Linked DNA regions of Homo sapiens: region 1 is linked to region 2. Evidence: promoter capture Hi-C in 16 types of primary human blood cells and fetal thymus (Javierre and others, 2016). All regions are on one chromosome and are shown on one strand. Each heading gives the region's core, a stretch centred on a gene start or on the middle of the fragment in contact. The rest is flanking DNA. Distances are from core to core; before and after follow the strand shown. Region 1 holds the start of HOXD13 (homeobox D13). Region 2 holds the start of CHRNA1 (cholinergic receptor nicotinic alpha 1 subunit).

Evidence for each region. The method cuts DNA at HindIII sites, captures the fragments that hold promoters and counts their contacts. A CHiCAGO score of 5 or more calls a contact.
Region 1: a contact is called between a fragment that was not itself captured here and the fragment with the promoter of CHRNA1 in region 2, in 1 of 17 cell types (M2 macrophages). The highest score is 6.5, in M2 macrophages.

Annotation. Positions count from the first base shown.
Region 1 is chr2:176,092,706-176,095,405 of GRCh38, reverse strand. It overlaps HOXD13 (homeobox D13), which reads right to left and starts at 2,685. Exons shown (of 2, transcript NM_000523.4): 1 at 1,735-2,685; 2 at 1-926. The coding sequence starts at 2,515. The coding sequence ends at 676. The HindIII fragment of the contact is 171 bases long and covers 1,188-1,358 here.
Region 2 is chr2:174,763,081-174,765,780 of GRCh38, reverse strand. CHRNA1 (cholinergic receptor nicotinic alpha 1 subunit) reads left to right here and starts at 1,309. Exons shown (of 9, transcript NM_000079.4): 1 at 1,309-1,429. The coding sequence starts at 1,387. RefSeq lists an enhancer at 809-1,308. The HindIII fragment of the contact is 3,214 bases long and covers 1-2,319 here.

The DNA of each region.
Region 1 (2,700 bases), core at 24-2,523, 1.3 Mb before region 2:
AAGTGTTAAAAACAAACAATTAAAACAGCAAGTGAAACACCCAAAGTTGGAAAGATTGTCTTCATTTCAATATTGATACAATCCCTATTTAATAAGGTGGCCATTTTTAAAGCCATCACAGTACCTTCAGCCTCCTGTTTTTAGACTTTCTCGGTGACCCCAGAGCACTGCCTGCCTTTCCACTTGCCTCAGGGCAACTGCTGAGAGCTAATGATTCAATTACCTAATTACAGGATATGAACGACTGAAAACCATTCTGTCCTAATGGATTATGAAGATAATCAGTGCTGGGAATGAACAAATAAAGTAATTTTTTAAAAAAACCCTTAAATCAGAATGGCACTTCTGAAGTTCATTGGGGGGCGGATTATTAAAAAATACTTCAAGTCCCTTTATACTGGCCTGGAGGGAGAAACAAAACATTAAAAACAGATATTTTAAAAACCCTAGGCAAGAACAAAACCAATAATAAACAAGTAAAAATCAGAACTACAAAGTCAGGTTGGGCAGCAGAAGGTTTTAGAGCCAGATAAGGGGAAGAGAGAAAAACAATTCACAAAATTTGCCACCATTGGCAGGGGGTGGGGGGAATTAAATACATATTCAAGTCTTTCCAAAGGCCTTTTGGAGACAACCGAATGGCTTCTAAGCTGTCTGTGGCCAACCTGGACCACATCAGGAGACAGTATCTTTGAGCTTGGAGACAATTTTCTTGTCCTTCACTCTTCGGTTCTGAAACCAAATGGTCACTTGTCTCTCAGATAGGTTCGTAGCAGCCGAGATACGCCGCCGCTTGTCCTTGTTAATGAATTTGTTAATGGCATACTCGTTCTCCAGTTCTTTAAGCTGCAGTTTGGTGTAAGGCACTCTCTTCTTCCTCCCTCTTCGGTAGACGCACATGTCCGGCTGATTTAGAGCCACATCCCCTGATACAAACAAAAGCACAAGAAAAATTAGGCTGGGATATTCGGAGCACCTAGCTGAGGATTGTGTGTGTGTGTGTGTGTGTGTGTGTGTGTGCGTTTGCAGGGGTGCAGGAAATTTTTAAAAAATGCCATGCTGTTTGGTCTTTATTATGTACATAGACATAACACTTACCTGTTATTAAAGAAGGATTATTTGCACTTAACAACAATGGTTAATTTGATTGATTATCATAGTTTCTCAAACCGGCATCTTAACAAGCTTGCAATTTTATGGTGTGGTTATTGGGCACGTTCATGAGGACAGTTTCTGCAAATGTCGGTTGTATAAAAACAAACTTACATACATAGACACATACCAACTCAGGTCTTTTGCTCAAATTTTGATTTCCCGCGTTCCTATGTTAGGAGTTCGTGAGCTTGATCTAACAAGCTTTAGTAGTCATCTTGGGGCAGTGATGTCTTTGAAAATGGGGGGACCCAACTCTGTCAGGTTTCTTAGGAAAAAGTTCTCTTTAGGAGAAAAGGGAGAGGCCCAAGGAAAGGGCACGCAGAGACTCTCAACTTTAGGAGAAAAACGTGTCTGCGCTGCACACAGGAAAGAAAGGGCAGTGACGGAGGCAGTTGAAATCAGAGGAGGAATTTACAGATTTCACACGAACTGGACAAATTTCCACTGGGTTAACCCTGGTCACGTGTGGAGCACAGGCACAACTCCCACTCCCAAGTAGGGGCGCATACTCTTAGTCCTTTCTTTTCTCCTTCTCTCTCCCCCTCCCTCGTGTCGGTCCCTTTTCTCCATCGCCCCTACCTGGAAAGGAAGATTTCCAAAAGTGGGACCCCTGTGGCTGGTCCTTGGTGCAGTACACCTGGCTGTTCCACCCGTTAGCCAGCGTCCAGGACTGGTACCCCTCCATGGAGATGTAGGCCTCGTGCCGAGGCTCCCCGGAGCCGAAAGTGGACACCATGTCGATATAGCCGGGCACGTGCTGGTAAGGGCTCGTATAGCCCTGGTAGAAGGATACCTCCTTGGCTCGCGCTGGCACCTCGTTGGCCGGTACGCTGCTGCTCGCCAGGCCTGACACGTCCATGTACTTCTCCACGGGAAAGCCTCCCAGCGAGGCGTGCGGCGATGACTTGAGCGCATTCTGCTGTAAGCCCACGCCGTGCGACATACGGCAGCTGTAGTAGCCGTTGCCGAAGTGGTAGCCGTAGCCCAGCGCTGGAGCGCTCGGGGGCGCTGCAGCGGCCGCTGCAGGCGTGGGTGCTGGGCACTCTTTGGCTGGGGGAGCCTCCGGGCGCGCCGCTACAACGGCAGAAGAGGACGACGACGAGGAAGAGCCCGTGCGCTCAGAGGTCCCGGGGTACGCAAAGCCGGAGGCTGCCGCCGCCGCCGCCGCAGCCGCCGCTGCCGCCGCCGCCGCCCGCCCCGAATGCGTCCCGGCGAACACAGGCGCGGAGAGAAAGCCGCGGCACTGGCCTGACGCCGCCGCCGCCGCCACCGATGAGGAGGAGGAAGAGGCCGGGGCGCCACCGGCGCCCCCGCCGTCTGCCCGCAGCCCGTCCATGTCCCAGCTCCCGGCGCGGCTCATGGCCCGGCCTGGCCCGGCCCCGGCCCTGGCCCTGGCCCCGCGCAGGACACCATGGCGCGGCGCGCCTCCTCCCTCCTCTCCTTTCTCTCTGGTTCGCTCGCTCCCGCCCTCTTCCTCTAGCCCTCTCTCCCTCTGTGAGCCTCCCGCCTCCGGCCCGCCTGCCCTCCAACAGGTTAGCTCATCGC
Region 2 (2,700 bases), core at 60-2,559:
TCTGGTAGGTTTGTGAGTCTGAGAACATTTTTCCACTCATGCCACTGGCCAGAGGTCAGTCCCATGGCTCCATTTAGATGGAAGGGGCTGGTCAGAGGGTGGGGGTTGTATTTCTGCCACGGGGCTATTCCATGGAAGGGAGAGAACCAAATTTTTTTTTAGCAAACAGTTAACTGATCTCCCACAGTTTAAACAAAAAATATAAATAGTATGAGCTTGCAGCTCTCTCCTCTACCCTCCAAGCCCCTTCTCTAATGATTTGTTTGGATCCACTGGAATGAGAGGATCTGTCAGGATGTTGTTGTGGGCTTGAGGTGAGAGGACCTTTCTCACCTAGTTCCATGTGGGAAGGAGGCCTGGAAGGAACAGGCAGGGTACCTTTAAGTAACTGTCTCCTTCTGGGAACTCACCTCACACCCTGCAAAGAAGCACAGCTAGGGTAACAATACTTCTCAGACTGAGAAATTACTAACTGCTGGTTTTTAGGATGTTTTTCAAGCAAGATAATTGAAAAGCTGAACCACTCTGCTCTTTGCTTCCCTGAGTGAGAGTAGGCAGAGGGACGGATGGAAGGAGGCAGGAACCCGGAACGACTGCTGATGCGGTGGGACACTTTTTCCCAATAATTACTCTTCGCTTGAATCACAGTGCATAGGACGTGGGCAATTTGCTCCAGCTAATGGTTCGTGTGGGATAGGTATTGCCTGATACAGAGGCAGGGGTTGGAACAGCCACTCTGGGGGCCAGTAAAGCCAGTTTTATGGAAGAAGCTGTCTTTGTTAAAAACCAAACCCAATCAACGTGGGGGCTTCCCAGCAGCAGACTCAACACCAGCTACACTTTTCTGAAATCCAGGCAGTCAGAAAAGCCCCCGGCACCCTCAGCCTAACACTGAAGCAGAGGAAATGAAACTGAAGCCATGTTTGCAGAATGTGGATTTTTGTGGTTTAGGACAAACAGCTGACTATCTACTCAGACCAAATGACCCTAATCAAGTCAACCCACAGAGATGAGGTTCTGGTTTACACAAAAGAGAGGCAGTTTGCTCACCATTTAAAATAATTCCTTCCTTCCTATACATTTTTTTTTCATTAAGATCTGACTACTGGTGCATTTAAAATATAATGCAGTTCATACTCAGCTTGTCAAGGGTAAGCAATTGTGTAAAGTGAGGCATATCTGTAATGGTGTACAGTCCCAGTAACTCCCTGGGCTCCAGGGCTGAGGGCAGCCCAGCTGTCGCTCCCACAAACAGGTGGTGTAAAACAATAGCTCTAGTGAGCCGACTCGCTTTCCAAACCCTCCAGCAGACAAGCACCCAGCCAGAGTGCCAGTGAGAAGCACAGGCCACCACTCTGCCCTGGTCCACACAAGCTCCGGTAGCCCATGGAGCCCTGGCCTCTCCTCCTGCTCTTTAGCCTTTGCTCAGGTAAGTGCTGGGGTCAGGGGTGGGGAGAGGGCTCTCCTTTGAGGCTAAAGTGCTGGAGGCCCCCAAATCAAAGTCTTGCTTCTTTGATGAGACCACAGAATGGCAGAGCCTCCCCAACCAGGGGCTGCTCTGTCAGTTTCTTCCTGATGTTAGCTTGATTGAGTTTTTGGATAAAGATTTTTAGTTTGCCTTATCTAATTAAAATAGAAACTGCCTGGTCAAAGACTTCAAGATAGACACGCATGTCTCTCCCTCCATCATGCCTGGCAGCCGACTCATCCCTCTGAACACTCGGCACCATTTGTAGGACCTGGACCACTTGTGGATCATGGTAGTGTCCGGGGGTTCATATTTAAACAACTATGGATACTTAGAACAGTGCCTTATAATCACATACAATGGAGTTAACAAGTCCCTTTACTGCTCCAGGAGAATTCTAATAATAAAGAGGACTGATTGACAGCTACATGTGCTGGAGATAGAAACCAGTTAATAATCATAACTAAACTCTCTCCACAGAGACAAATATTTTTTAATTTTTTCAAAATTTCTGAAGTTAAAAAAAATTCCATATGAATACATTCCTACCTACTTTTTTTTTTTAAGATGTTACTATATATAGGTTTGGGTTTGAATTGAAACTATAAAACCTTGCACAGCATTTGACCTGCATTCTACTCTGGAATGTGTCCTAACACAGCAGCTGAAACACCATCCTGAATCCCAGACTTCCGCTAGAGGGAAACAGGAGATGTTTGCTGATTGCTTCACATAAAAGTTTACTGGTGATATCATCCCAACTGAGAAACAAGGTGGCTGACATCCTGTGATTTTTCATTTCCAATATTGCTCTGAAAAACACAGGCCTTCTGGTCAAGAGGCAAAAAGCTTTATTATTAATTTTTTTCAATATCAGAGTTGAGTGAAAGAGCCTAAACTCAGATAAATTATATCATGTGGGATTTGGACTCTGTCCAGCCAAAGCTGGCCTGATGTGTGTGTGTGTGTGTGTGTGTGTGTGCGCGCGCGTGCACACACATGCGTGCACGCAAAACCACAGTCACAGGAAAATTCTTAAATGATATGCTTTAATGTAAACATCCTTAAGAGATCTCTTAGGATTTTGGTTATTGCTAACCAAAAATGCATGATTAGCTATTAAAGAAGTATGTGATATGTATTTAGGTCAAATCTCGAGTTTGCTGGCATTGATTTCCATGGGTGTTTTATAGAAATTTAGAGCTAGATCAGGCAGTCCAACATCCTCAATT